3 separate regions of the Homo sapiens genome follow, and all the other regions are linked to region 2. Evidence: promoter capture Hi-C in human tissues and cell types (Jung and others, 2019). All regions are on one chromosome and are shown on one strand. Each heading gives the region's core, a stretch centred on a gene start or on the middle of the fragment in contact. The rest is flanking DNA. Distances are from core to core; before and after follow the strand shown.

The links. Contacts are between HindIII fragments. The study calls those that stand out against the background at their distance.
Region 1: a fragment that was not itself captured here is called in contact with the fragment with the promoter of MLEC in region 2 in 1 of the 25 tissues and cell types used here (dorsolateral prefrontal cortex).
Region 3: the fragment with the promoter of CAMKK2 here is called in contact with the fragment with the promoter of MLEC in region 2 in 2 of the 25 tissues and cell types used here (liver and mesenchymal stem cells).

The regions. Positions count from the first base shown.
Region 1 is chr12:121,251,050-121,256,055 of GRCh38, forward strand. CAMKK2 (calcium/calmodulin dependent protein kinase kinase 2) reads right to left here. Exons shown (of 17, transcript NM_001270485.2): 8 at 4,734-4,755; 9 at 4,501-4,589; 10 at 2,224-2,423; 11 at 1,612-1,665. Among named protein-coding and RNA genes, the nearest start is that of CAMKK2, 43 kb to the right of the region's middle. RefSeq lists an enhancer at 4,544-5,006. The HindIII fragment of the contact is 4,173 bases long and covers 1,573-5,006 here.
Region 2 is chr12:120,684,082-120,689,103 of GRCh38, forward strand. It overlaps MLEC (malectin), which reads left to right and starts at 3,068. Exons shown (of 5, transcript NM_014730.4): 1 at 3,068-3,450. The coding sequence starts at 3,216. It overlaps LOC105370029 (a long non-coding RNA gene), which reads right to left and starts at 3,068. Exons shown (of 3, transcript XR_945449.3): 1 at 2,773-3,068. RefSeq lists silencers at 983-1,072, 2,187-2,286, 3,127-3,426 and enhancers at 2,447-2,556, 2,647-2,776, 2,871-3,372. The HindIII fragment of the contact is 30,224 bases long and covers 1-5,022 here.
Region 3 is chr12:121,293,460-121,298,087 of GRCh38, forward strand. It overlaps CAMKK2 (calcium/calmodulin dependent protein kinase kinase 2), which reads right to left and starts at 3,250. Exons shown (of 17, transcript NM_001270485.2): 1 at 3,179-3,250. RefSeq lists a silencer at 2,786-3,935. The HindIII fragment of the contact is 15,221 bases long and covers 1-4,628 here.

The sequences.
Region 1 (5,006 bases), core at 2,409-4,908, 570 kb after region 2:
TGTGCTGGAAAAGGAATCCTTACACGGGACACTGAAAATGTTGGAGAAGGTGGCAGAGAGGTACCTGAACCACCCGTCTAAGGAAAACGATTTCATTAAGAGCAGTGACTTGAGCTCTACCTAATCACTGCCTTCTAAGGCATTTGGAAGGAAGAGTGGAGATGGTGGTAACTTACTCTGAAATACATTAAGAAACCAGATGGACTGAGGGATGGGTAAGGAATGAACAGACAAGCACAGGAAAAGGTTAATATAGTAGAATCCAGGTGGTGGGTATGTGGGTGTTCACTGGACACTTCTTCCAGCTTTGCTACATGATTGAAAAATTTTCTAATCAAATATTGAGAGGCAATCGGTATAAACTCCTTTACTTCTTCATGGGACCAGTTTCTTAGGCTTTCCTCAATAAGAACACAAGCTCAGGAAAGGGAAAAATCTACGTTTTTATTGCTCACATAATCAAACTGAACTTCAGAGTTAAAACGAGAAGGCCAGGCGTGGTGGCTCACACCTGTAATCCCAAATCCCAGCACTCTGGGAGGCCCAGGCTGGCAGATCATTTGAGGTCAGGAGTTTGAAACCAGTCTGGCCAACATGGCAAAACACTATCTCTACAAAAATACAAAAATTAGCCGGGTGTGGTGGCTGGCATCTGTAGTCCCAGCTACTCAGGAGGCTGAGGCAGGAGAATGGCTTGAACCCGGGAGGCGGAGGTTGCAGTGAGCCGAGATCGCACCACTACACTCCAGCCTGGGTGACAGAGCAAGACTCCATCTCAAAAAAAAAAAAAAAAAAAATAGAGAGAGAAGCCCCCAGATATCAATAATAACAAAATAACAACAACAGAAAAGCCCAAACAGCACTCCCTAAATCAATAATGGTAAACAGCTTTTAACTTCCATTCCAATGCTACCCCTCTGACAAAAGCTTCTAGGAATACCCTGACGGAAAGAACATCAGAGCAGTATCAGGCTCAGGAGGAACGAGCACAGTTATTGATTAGTGATGTCTGCCTTGGGCTCAGAAATGGGAGAGGTGGCAGAACTGCTGTCCTTGCCCTAAATTTATCAACTATTTATAAACTCTAGAGCCTCTGCCAATCCTTCTGTTTTAACAGATCATTTTTTCATAGATATGATCATGACATACATACACATGTATATTTAGGAAGGCATCCTTTTTCACATTGAGATCTAGGTGTAGAAATAAAATAACTCTTCTCTTATTTTATTTTTTGAGACGGAGTCTCGCTCTTGTTGCCCAGGCTGGAATACAATGGTGCAATCTCAGCTCACTGCAAGCTCCGCCTCCTGGGTTCAGGCGATTCTCCTGCTTCAGCCTCCAGAGTAGCTGGGACTATAGGCATGCGCCATCACGCCTGGCTAATTTTTTGTATTTTTAGTAAAGACGGGGTTTCACCATGTTGGCCAAGCTGGTCTCCAACTCCTAACCTCTGCCTCAGCCTCCCAAAGTGCTGGGTTTACAGGCGTGAGCCACCATGCCCAGCCTAAAATAACTCTTAAATAAGTAAGTACTGTCTCCCCGCAAGGGTGACTATTAACCCAGGGGCCACCCAGCAGTACTGAGGGGACAGACACCCCGCCCTCTTACCTGGCCAAAGACAAAGCAGTATAGTGTCACACCCATGGCCCAAACATCCAAGGCCTGCAAGAAAAAGAGCTTAGTGTGAGGGCATAAGGGGTGGTCCAGCCTCCAATCCTCCAGTTTTCCTTTGGGGAACCACCTCTTGACTTTCAGCCCTTGGAGTTGGGGCGGGACCAATCTTGTCTCCTAGGCTCTGGGGCAGGCACAGGATCCAGGCCAGGCCAATGAGAGCACCACTACCCCCAGCCACAGTGATTGGTTCAAGCATGGGCACATGACCCATGTTGGGCCAATCAGAGCCAACCCCAGGGTTTTCACAGGCACTATTCAGAATGAGGAATGCTCTTGCCACTGAGGTTGGCAAATGATAGAAAGTAACCTGGTCCCTGGGTGCCTGACCCACCTGTGGAGGAAACCAAATAAGAAAAACAACTGAAAGATGGCGGGAGATGGTTTCTGTTTGAGTCCCTGGATCTAGCCAAGCCTGAAGCCTACCCCTCAGTATCTTGATCCAGGGGATTCACTGTTTAAGCCTGTGTGCGTTGGGTTTCTGCTGCTTACAATCCAGAAGACACTAACACAGGCAGAACTCTGTGGCTGAGGCAGGCCCAAGCTTACCTTCCCAGAGAAGATCTTGCGGGTCTCAGAGAGCGACTCGGGTGCCATGAAGGCGGGCGTGCCCACGGTGTTGGAGAGGAGCGCGTCACTGCCCTTGAATTCATTGCTCACACCAAAGTCAGCGATCTTGATGTGCCCATCTTCTCCGACCAGGAGGTTGGAAGGTTTGATGTCACGGTGGATGATCTTCTGGTAGTGTACTGGGGAGGCGTAGACAGCAGGTGGGAGATAGGGGCAGGAAAACCTCGTGAGCACCTCTATGCGGCCACATGGCCTGGAGACACAGGCATGGCACCCCTCTGATGCCTTGTCTCCCACAGCCCCAGGCCTTTTCCAACCTTCCACTCCCCAAACCCGCTGGGCACTGACATGCTCTAAAAGATGAGGGGAAAAGTGTCTTCAAGGAAGTCCCAGCCCACCATCACCCCACCCCTTCTCAACAATGACACATAAAACACTGCCAATAGCAATTCGTAATCGCCTGTTATTTATTAAGTCACAAGTGACAGTGCATGGAAAGTTTTTGCTGGGCTTGGCTCACAGCTAGTTGTGAAACTGACAGTGAAACATAGTTTCATTTACCAACAGCCAATACTCAACTGATTTACCAAACCGACAATGACCTGAGCAGGCCGATTTGAAATGTGAACCACACACAGAACTCGGGGCTTGGCTAACTCCTCCTGGCTGGATATCAGCCCATGGTACAGGACAGTTCTATGGCCTGGAAGACCCAACTGCCATTTCTGGGGTGATGATGATGATGAAGACGATTTCAGTGAAAGCAGCAGCAGAGCACCAAGTGAGGGGCCCGGCCCTGCGTTGTGTTTCACATTCACATTTTACATTTAATTAAACCTCACAACCATCCTATGTGACAGGCAGGGATAAGAGATAACGTGGTGGCCGGGCACGGTGGCTCACGCCTGTCATCCCAGCACTTTGGGAGGCAAGGCAGGGGGATCACCTGAGGTCAGGAGTTCAAGACCAGCCTGGCCAACATAGCGAAACCCCATCTCTACAAAAAATACAAAAATTAGCCGGGCATGGTGGCGTACACCTGTAGTCCCAGCTACTTGGGAGGCTGAGGCATGAGAATTGCTTGAACCCAGGAGGCAGAGGTTGCAGTGACCTGAGATCGCGCCACTGCACTCCAGCCCAGGCAACAGGGCAAGAATCTCAAAGGAAAAAAAGAGCTAAGATGTTTAACAAGCAGAAGCAGAAAGGACACCTGCCAATCAAACCACTGATGTGTACTGGCTGATCTCAGCCCTGGTGAGAGATATGTTATCCCCATTTTACAGATGAGGAAGCTAAGGTTCCAGGAGGTGAACAGGACCCTGATCCCAGGGTCACTGGGAGGAATAAGAGACAAAAAAAATAGAGCCCCAAACAGTGCCTGGTGCACATAGAAAGTGCTAAATAGTCACTATTGCTACTGCTCTTCATTTTGCCAAGTGGCAGGAAGAAGGGTTTTGGCTCGCCTGGACCATGGCCATAGGGTGGCTCTCTGCAGCTGGCCCTGATTCTGCATTTCACACAATTCTGTTTCCCACTATGATGGTTGATACTGAGTGTCAACTTGATTGGACTGAAGGATACAAAGTATTAATCCTGGATGTGTCTGTGTGGGTGTTGCCAAAGGAGATTAACATTTGAGTCAGTGGGCTGGGGAAGGCAGACCCACAATCTAATCAGCTGCCAGCGAATATAAAGCAGGCAGAAAAACGTGAAAGGTGAGACTGGCCTAGCCTCCCAGCCTATGTTTTTTTCCTATCTGGATGCTTCCTGCCCTCAAACGTCAGACTCCACGTTCTTTAGTTTTGAGAGTTAGATGGGCTCTCCTTGCTCCTCAAGCTTGCAGACAGACTATATTGTGGGACCTTGTGATCGTGTAAGTTAATACTTAATAAACTCCCCTTTATATATATAATTATATATATAATTTTATATATATATAATTTTATATATATATAATTATATATATAATTTTATATATATATAATTATATATATAATTATATATATAATTTTATATATAATTTTATATATATATAATTATATATAATTTTATATATATAATTATATATATAATTTTATATATATAATTTTATATATATATATGTATCTCCTATTAGTTCTGTCCCTCTAGAGGACCCCAATCCACCCGCCCACCTCCCTGTGCTCCAGGAAGAAAATAAGACACTTTCCACTTTGCACCCACGCTCAGAATGCTAACTACCCACTGGGTGAGAGCCCTCCCGCAGGCCCTGCTCACAGTACTCGATGCCTTTGATCAGATCCTGGAAGTAGAAACGGGCCTGGTCTTCAGAGAGTGGTTTGAGGGTGGGCACTTCCATCACGGGCCTGAAAGGTCGACACTCATGTGAAACACAAAGCAGACCCGCCAGCCCTTGCCCTCTCTCATGAGCAGAGCCCAGTGGCACCTCACTCAGCTATGCAGCTACAGAAGCTTCTTGCATCACCCCTGCTGGGAGCTGGGACACTCACCCTTGGTTGACCAGTTCGAACACTGTAGGGAAGAAAAGGGTGAAACTGTTACATGGGAAACTGAACATCCATCTCTCTCTGTCCTCCCCACCTCCCAACCACCTCCAGAAACACCAAGAAAGACAGAAACTAGTATTAGAGCTGGGGAGAGGAACAGTCCACTGAACCAAGCTGGCCAAGGTCCTGCTTTGCTAAATTTCCATCAGAAGGCAAAGAACCAGGGATTTCTGACGTCCCCAGGCCCACAGTCTGGCTTGACTTCTAGTGCTCAAA
Region 2 (5,022 bases), core at 1,818-4,317:
TTTTTGAGACTGGATCTCACTCTGTCACCCAGGCTAGAGTGCAGTGGTGCGATCTCGGCTCACTGTAACCTCTGCCTCCCGGGTTCAAGCGAGTCTCCTGCCTCGGCCTTCCGAATAGCTGGGATTACAGGTGCGCCCCACCATGCCCAGCTAATTTTTGTATTTTTAGTAGAGACAGGGTTTTTCCATGTTGGTCAGGCTGGTCTCGAACTCCTGGCCTCAAGTGATCCACCCACCTCAGCCTCCCAAAGTGCTGGAATTACAGGCATGGGCCACTAGGCTGGCCAATACTGTGTTTATACTGTATCTGTGTTTAGATACGCAAATACTTACCATTGTGTTCAACTGTCTACAGTATTCAGTAAGGTAACATGCTGTAGAGGTTTGTAGTGTAGGAGCTATCAGCTATACCATATAGCCTAGGTGTATAGCAGGCTATCCCCATCTAGGTTTGTGTAAGTACACTCTGTGATCTCTGCACAATGACAAAATCGCTTAATGATGCATTTTTCAGAACGCATCCCTGTCATTAAGTGACTCATGACTGTATCTCTATTTCACAACTGAGGAAACTGAAACTCAGCGAAGTACATCACTTGCCCAAGGCCACACAGTGGGTAAATGGGACTAGGCATGGGATGCAGGCAGCCTGTCTTAGATCCCACGCTCGGATCCCATACCCTGCCTCCAGGGTCTCAGACTTTACGTTTTACTGAAAAGACAGCCTAATTCATGAGCAGCTGGATCTCAGAAAGGGAGCCAAGCTCCTTGGTACACAGATGGCCCAACCACGAATGGTATCTGAAGGGCTCAATAACAGGAGCCAGCCGGGTATCTTCTTCACCCTCTGGGGTGACCAAAGACACGAAGGACTGAGAGAAAGCCTTTAGAGGCCTCCCCCAAAATTTAATCCGTTTTTGTGATTGTTTCTCCTGGACTAGACTGCCTTGAGGATAAAATAAACATGAGCGCCTGGTGGCAGTGCAATACCTGAGTGGTACGTGGGCTCTGCAGGCCAACTGCCTGGAGGGAGGAAGCCCCATCACCACTACTTGTGTTTCTGTTCCCCATTTGCACCACACCCCTCCTTTGAGGGTAACTGAAGCCTCTGAGTTGTCAAGATCCTTAAAAGATGACAGTTTGAGAGAGAGAATAGTAGAATTAGAAACCCCAAGAGGCCAGGTGTGGTGGCTCACACCTGTAATCCCAGCACTTTGGGAGGCCGCGGACCCCGAGGTCAGGAGATCGAGATCATCCTGGCCAACATGGTGAAACTCGGTCTCTAATAAAAATAAAAAAAACTAGTTGGGTGTGGTGGCGCGCGCCTGTAGTCCCAGCTACTCAGGAGGCTGAGGCAGCAGAATCGCCTAAACCCGGGAGGTGGAGGTTGCCATGAGCCGAGATTGCACCACTGCACTCCAGCCTGGCGACAGAGCAAGACTCTGTCTCCAAAAAAGACAGAAAAAAAAAAAAAAAGAAACACCTTGGACAGGAAACATGTCTATGGGAGGAAGTAAGGCCAGATGCTTGCAAAATAGGGGGGAAAGTGAGACCGGGAGGGAACACTTCCAAAAGTTACCCCCATGGGGTCTGAATTTGGGGCCTGGGAAGGAATTTGGGTGCATTTAGATCCACCACTGATAGTCTCTATTTTGGCACCCTGTTTTGTTCCCGTATAGCACTTACCACTGTTCTAACTAAACAATTAATTTCATTATGGGTTGTGCAAAGTCTATGATTCTCATGCGGGACCCCAGGTGTGTTTTTTGTTCATGTAGCACAAAGCTCATTGCCTAAGTAGTAGGTAGGATTGGTAGATAAAATACAAGAAGTCCAGTTGTTTAAATTTTAATAAACAATGCATTTTTTTTTTTAGTATAAGTGGGTCCCATTTGCTTATCTGAAATTCAAATATAACTGGGCTTCTCCTATTTTATCTGCCAAATCTGACAACCCTGGTAGCAGGGACTTGATACATTTTTTTCCTTTTAGGGAGAATTTCTAAATCGACCAGTATTTATGGAAAATGCATAAGCGTTTTTTTGTTTTTTTTGTTTTTGCCTTGACTCTGCCCTACACTTGCGGTGCGACCCTTTGGCAAAATTCAGTCCCTTTCTATGCCTCAGTTTCCCCATCGGAAAAATGGGAGTTTGAACAGCGACCGAAGCGCAGGGATCGCCAGTGTGGGAGAGCGCCAGGTGAACTGTGAAGGAGCAGGGAGGGAGTTCGGGCCGTGCCCGTGCGGGACAACCCCGGTATCCACTCTGGGCACCGCCGGCGGCGACTCCCGCCAGCGCCTAGGGTGCCTCGGTCCCGCCCCTACGCAGCGGAGGCCGGCCAGAGGCCGTCGCCATGGAGACGCGAGCAGCCTGGCACCCACTCGCTCTCAAAGCCACGCGTTTCCGCTGCGTTGGAGCCTTCTCATTGGACGGCCGTCTGGACGCTACCACCCGCCCCGAGCCCGCTAAGGGGAGGGGGCGGGGCCTTATTCTCATGGGATTCGTTCCCTGGAGACCTGTGTCCGCGGCCTCTCTGGGAAAGCATGGGTCCTCTCCCTCACGCGGGGAAAAGGACTGCGTCTCTTAGGTCTGGAGAGTGTCCATTGCTTCTCCTACTAGAATTTATGCTCATGCTGCTCCCTGAGAAAAGAAGAGGGGGCGGGAAAGTCGGCCACGCCCCCTCCAGAGCCTATTTGGTCTCAGGAGCTAGAGCACCGGAAGTGCTGGCGACATGTCAGTGCGCCCTACCCTAAACCTTCCCCCCCCAGGCCACCTTTCCCATTCAGCTGTGGGATTCCGGGGCCGCCTGGGCGCTGCACCCGCCACTTCCGCATCGAACCGCCGCTTCAACCGAACTCACTCCCTCTGCGCGCGCTCCATCTGGTGCCCGACTGCTGGGCCGGCGCCTGGGAGAAGCCACGCCCTTTCCCGCGCCTGACAGCCAATGAGCGGGCGCCTCCCGGCGGGGTGGTGGGTAATTAATGAGGGCCGGGCGCTGATTGGCTGCAGCGTCGTGGCCGGGGGCAGGGCGGCGGGGTAGGTTGTTCCTGAGGTGGGAGGCGGTACCCGTGGCTGAGAAGAAGGAGGCCTGAGAGCGACATGTCCCCGGCGGCTCAGGCGGAGCGGCCCGTGGCGCTGTTTTTCTGAGTCCGGGGTGGCCTGGCAGCCGGCCGAGGACGAGGGTCGGCGGGGGCTGCCCCCGTGGTGGTGGCCGCCATGCTGGGAGCCTGGGCGGTTGAGGGAACCGCTGTGGCGCTCCTGCGACTGCTGCTGCTGCTGCTGCCGCCGGCGATCCGGGGACCCGGGCTCGGCGTGGCCGGCGTGGCCGGCGCGGCGGGGGCCGGGCTGCCCGAGAGCGTCATTTGGGCGGTCAACGCGGGTGGAGAGGCGCATGTGGACGTGCACGGGATCCACTTCCGCAAGGACCCTTTGGAAGGCCGGGTGGGCCGAGGTGAGAGTCCCCCTGCCGAGCCGCGGGATCCAGGGCCTGCTGTGCTGGGCGCAGCCGGCCGGGGGCTGCGGGCCCCGAGCCCCTTTCGACCCTGGGGCCGCGTCTCTGGAGCGAAGTTTCTCTCTGCAGCTTCTTCGGGGGCCCGCTCTGAGCTCAGGGCCTGGCACTGGCTCCAAGGTACCTAGAGTCATACAGGCAGAGAGTTGGCCAGAAGTTAGTTATATTTGGATTTCTCATCCTGCATTTTCTCAACCCCTCACTCCCATCCAAGCTGGGAGAGAAATGACGAAGGCGGCCTTTTGCTACCTCCAGGCCTCGCGGGTTGTAGGTCATGGGTGCCCCTGCTTCTCCTGTCGAGACAGTTCTTGGGAGATTCTCGTCGACCCAGGAATCGGCCGCTTTCCTTGCCCCTTCTGCAGGAGCGGGGCTTGATTCTTAGCCAGAATAGGAAGGAATCTTCGAAGAGAATGGGCCAGGAAAGTTTGATTGTAGCCTCCTCCCCCGCCCTCTTTTCGAGCGAAGAATATGTGTGCTTAAAAGTAGAATCGGCAGGCCGCCCCCAGAGGGTGGTTCTATCGAAGCCATCCTGCACGTGAGGCTGGTGGCTGTGTGTGAACTGGGTCAACCAGTGTAAGAATCCGAATGGTCTATCAGAGAATGCTTACAACCTCCCCTAGGTGATCCTGAGAGTTCTAATTCCAGCTTAGGGGGAAAATGATTGTGACTTAACTTGCTGGGCAACAGTGGTTTTTAACGGAGCTGCTCCCTTCCCAAAGTTAGTGTGTGTCAGAATTGCCAGGGCAGCTGGTTAAAAATGCAGATTCCTAGTCCCCACTCGAAATTGATTATAGTAGATTGAGCTTTTTTGCTGGGATCCAGGTTTCTGCACCAGGGGCTTGTGATGTAGGTTGCCCCGAGACCACCGTTTTGGAAGATCAGCTTTATAATCTTTGTTTCTTCTGTTGGAGGGATTGGAAAACAGGTTTCAGAAGGAAGTTCTTTGCTAGGAGATTGATACTGTATGCTGGGTTCAGAGGCTACCAAATTGGCAGTATGCCACCTCCAGACAACCAGGAGACAGACTCACTCTTCACTTTCTCTCATTCTTTTTCTGCGATGCCCAGATTTGGCTCTTGCTTTTACTAAAATAGTTAGTTCTTCCCAAGTCGATTGCAGTGTCCTGGAGTTTGTTATATTAAGGAGTTTATTGCCTTTCACACATGTGAGGGTCTTGGGACACAGGGCTGTTTTGTGAAGTTCTATGTTTGTCTTGGAGTTTGTTGAGCCCTGGCATGTAGATCACAGTAGCCTGGGTTCAGCTGACTCAGGGCTCCAGTCTTTAGCAGCGGTAACAGCAGCCAAAGCCAGACTTTATAGCAGGAGGTCATTACTATCTCTATCCTGGACCCTTCCTCTTTCTTCACGAGTGTGGGCAGGGAGGAAAGAGCCCTTGAGGAAACTAGACAGTTTGTGGACTTTGCCTCTTGAGATAGCGGTGGTGAGGGTGCTGAGCGGATGGTTTCTTTCACTTAGCAGATACCAGGCCTTACATTGGTTACATCGTCCTATTCA
Region 3 (4,628 bases), core at 2,000-4,499, 610 kb after region 2:
CAGCCTCTCTGAGCCCTTCATATAAAGAGGCTTCCATAAAATGAGTTGATAGAATAATGGTGATTCTGTGGCCCATGTTAAAATTTGAGCCAAAATGCCTTGAAAACAGGCTTGGCCTGCCCCACTTGGCCTGGTCCTCTCCCCTGAGAGTGGTGTCTGGCCACTCATCTTCCATCTAGGATGAGGTTCTCAAAGAGGAAACCCCCGGCTACTGCACAAAGTTCCCTGCTAGGTCACCCCACCCTATCCCCTTCCCCTCCTACTCCCATCCCATCTCCCATTTCTGGCCCATCCTTCAAGGCTCTGCACAAATGACACCTCCTTCAGGGAGCCTCCCAGATTCACACCAGTCTGAGGAGATTTCTCCAGAACCCTCAGTGCCCTGTGCTCCTTCGATCACAACAGCACTCATTCCTTGTGGTGTTTCTCAACAGTGGCACTGCTGGCATTTGGGGGAGGGTGATTTTTTTTTGTTTTTTGTTTGTTTTTTGAGAGGAAGTCTCCTTCTTGTGCCCCACGCTGGAGTGCAATGGCACGATCTCAGCACACTGCAACCTCCGCCTTCCAGGTTCAAGTGATTCTCCTGCCTCAGCCTCCCAAGTAGCTGGGATTACAGGTGTGTGCCACCACGCCCAGCTAATTTTTGTATTTTTAGTAGAGATGGGGTTTCACCATGTTGGCCAGGCTGGTCTCGAACTCCTGACCTCAGGTGATCCTCCTGCCTCGGCCTCCCAAAGTGCTGGGATTACAAGCGTGAGCCACCACGCCCAGCCAGGGGAGGGTGATTCTTTATGTCGTGGCCCTGGCCTGCCTACAGGACACTTTAGTAGGCATCCCTGACTCCCGCCCACTAAAAGCCAGGAGTGCTTAGCATCATTTTGACAACCAAAAGTCGCCCCCACACTTTCCCAAATCCCTGCCAGGAGGGTGGGACCACCCCCGGATGAGAACTAGTGCATTGTTATTAGTGACTATATTTAGCTACCAGCCCACTAGCCATATCTAAGGATGGGCAGTACTACAGACCCTGCATAGAGCTGCATCGGCAAACACTGATGTAGTGAATAAACAAAACAAAACAAACTCCTGGGCTCCTCAAGAAGCTCAGGGCAGCCTTGCCAGGGTCTCTGCTCTTGAACAGGTGCACAAAGGTTCTAAGGCCTGACATGCCTGCACTGGCTGTGTGACCCTGAGCAAGTTACTTAACTTCTCTGAGCCCTTCTATAAAATGGGGCTAAATCCTAGCAACACTGCAGGATTTCTGTAAACCTCAGTCTCCTAATCTCTACTATGGGGTTAAAATTCCCTACGTTGTAGGATTTGGTAGGCATTAAATGAGATAATGCATGTAACACATAGCACAGAATCTGGCAGGCAGCAAGAACTCAATAGATGTTAGTTTTTAATACTGTTATTATTATTATTGTCCAGGGCCAGGTGGCAGCTCATGCCTGTAATCCTAGCACTTGGGAGACTGACGTAGGCGGATCACTTGAGGTAAGGAGTTCAAGACCAGCCTGACCAACATGGTGAAACCCCTTCTCTACTAAAAATACAGAAATTAGCCAGGCATGGTGGTGGGCGCCTGTAATCCCAGCTACTGGAGAGGCTGAGGCATGAGAATCGCTTGAACCCGGGAGGCGGAGGTTGCAGTGAGCCAAGATTGTGCCACTGCACTCCACCCTGGGCAACAGAGACTCCGTCTCAAAATAAATAAATAAGTATTCTTATTATTATCCAAGTTAGGGGCTCATCAAATGATGGCTATTACTCTTCATTACAAAAATATGTTTTGCGTCCTCATCACCAATGCCTGCTTCCTCCATAGGAAGGGTGTGTGTCACCAATGCCTGCTTCCTCCATAGGAAGGGTGTATGAGCAGCAGTCTGGAAGGGGTATGTGGGGCTTGCCCTAAAGCTGCATTTGCATGGCATGCACACTATTTATTCTGAAACTGCATGTTTTTGTGGGGTGATTAGGGAAGAGGGTGGCTAACTCCCCCAAAGCCCTCCCCTTGTTGCAGCCCCCGCCTCCTCCAAGGAACAAAGGAGCTTATGGGGACATAAAGCCATCCTCTTCTCTCTCCTCTGGGGGCAGAGCTAGGGGAGGGGGAGTGGTAAATGGCAGCACAGCTCTAGGGCACCTGAAGTTTCTATCCCCTGCGTGGAGACTCCAAACACCAGGCTGGGGAAGGTAAAAGTAGCCTGTAGGGAGATGGACGCTGCAGGTCCCATCCGGAGGCCAGGTATCCCTCTCTTGCTGATAGCACTGAGACGCCCTCCCCAAAGCTCAGCCTTCTCGGGGAGATCGGAGGGGCTGAGCTGCATCCTGTCCAGCACTAAGTGAGAGTGGCCAGGAGGGCAGGCTGGCAGAGCTGTGAAAGCACCCACTTCCCCAGCTAGGCAGTGCAGGGGCTGGGGGAAAGCCAGGAAAAGCTCAAGGCTGGGTCGGGTGGCACCCCAGGCACAGAGCCCCAATGCTGAGAGGGGCTGGGTCCAGTGTCCCTGAGAGTCAGGCGGACGCCTCTCCGCATTCACAGCATACTGCAACCCCGAGGTGAATTTAGGTCAGAAGGACCAAGCCTGTGAGGCTCCGGCTGAGAGAAGAGGTGCGGTGGGGGTGGTCAAAGGGCAGACCGAAGACAGCCAAAGGTCCCCTAGGTCCCCACAACTGCTGGCCTAGGGTCCTGCCACCTGGTGTCCAAGCCACCAGGGCCTGGGTTTGCCCCGAGACAGGCAGGCTGCGGGGTGGGGGTGCTCCAAGTCCGCTGGTCCTCTCTTCCCCGGAACGCTCCAGATTTCCCCACCTGTCAAACGCGAGGGGCTGGGCCTAGGCCGCCTCCACGAACCCTGACGGACCCGGCCCCCGGTGACCCCGGTTCCAAACTCCAGGACCGCCCCTGCCACCCGGACAGGGCGCGGCCCAGCCGAGGAGGCCATCCCGAGGCCCAGGGCGCCCAGAGGACGCGGGGGAAGGGCTGTCGGGGACCGTGTCCCTCCACGTGGCGGGGCGTGGGGAGGCGCACGTGGGGTCCCTCCGTGTTGGGAGCCCCAGGCCAGCCTCCGGGCTTTGTGTGCCATGCCGGCGGCGGTCCCCCGCCTCGAGAGGGAAACGGAGCGGGCGCCCGGGGCCGCGGCGGCTGCGTCCCTTGCCCCGGGCCCGGCTACCGCCAGCTCACCTGGGCTCCGCGCCGCCGCCGCCTCCCGCGCTCTGCGCCCCCAGCTCGGCTCGGCTCGGCTCAGCTTGCTCTGCGCGGCCGCGCGCTCCTCTCCTCCGCCCGGGCGGCGGGCGCGCGGGGGGCGGGGGCGGGAGGAGCCGCCCGGCTCGGCTTGGGCGCGTCGCCGCCCCGGGCAGCGCGGGGATTGGCCACGGCGGCGGGAAACCCGAAAGCGGAACCGCCCGCGCCCGCCGCGCACCGCCCCCTGCGCGCCCCCGCCGGCTCGGCCCTGCGCCGGGGAGGGGTGGGGAGGCGGGAGCCTGCAAAGACGAAAGTAGCGAAGAGGCGAAGGGCAAGGAGCAGAAAGGGAGGAGGCGAAGAACGGGGGAAGAGAGGCCCGGCCGGGAGGATCGGAGGCGGCTGGGAGGAGAGCCTGGAGGGGCGCGGAGCGCAGGAGGTGGCGCCGCAACTTTGTACCCGCTCGCCCGCGGCGCGCACCTGCCCAGGTTCTTCCCGCGGCGCCCTCGGGCGGGCCGCGCCGGCAGCGCTTGCTTTGTTTAGCCAAATGCCGGGGCTGCAGGGCGCCTCCGGGCTGACCCTGGGAAAGTTCCCCCAAGCCGGCAAGAACACCCGGGGCCCCTCCTGTGGCGACCCGGCTGCTGCCCCTGCGCTAGGCGCCGGGCGGTGGATGCGGCCTGGACTTTGGGCCACCACCGACTCGGGGGAGCCCCCTTCCGCAGCTGCCTGCCGACTGACCACTTGCTCAGGGCCGGCCCTAAAGGCTGGGGGAAGGCGTTCCTCTCCCATCCCCAGCCCACCTGGATGCACCATTGAAGTTCATTCTGGCTTTTCCAGATGGCTACTTAGATGCTTTTTGTGAAATACAGCATATTCTTCCCATTCTCCCCTTTTTGGCACTTACTTTGCTGGAGCCTTAAGTGTGCGTTGGATCCCCCAGCTGGATAACAGCACTGTGCGGGGAAGAGGAGAAACGAAGACCTGGAGGGCTCCCTGAACCGTCCTACGGGGTCGAGCGACCCAGGGGATGTCTCACTGACCCTGCCAAACAGCCAAAAGGGAATCGAGTTGACAGGAGAGTCAACCTCCAAGTTAATAAAAGGTTCAAAGCCCTCTAGTTAACTGGGTGGATTTCCAGCCCGTTCCGATGTGCTTCTCTTGTATTTCTAGGCCGTAGGGACACTCACATGCAACGAGCCAATGAGAGCTCCACCCCGACTCCCTTTTTTTTTTTTTTTTTTTTCTTTTCTGAAACGGAGTCTCGCTCTGTCGCCCACGCTGGAGTGCAGTGACGCGATCTCGGATCACTGCAACCTCTGCCTCCCAGGTTCAAGCAGTTCTCTGCCTCAGTCTCCCGAGTAGCTGGGATTACAGGCGCCGGCCACCATACTTGGCTAATTTTTGTATTTTTCGTAGAGATGGGGTTTCACCATGTTGTCCAGGCTAATCTTGA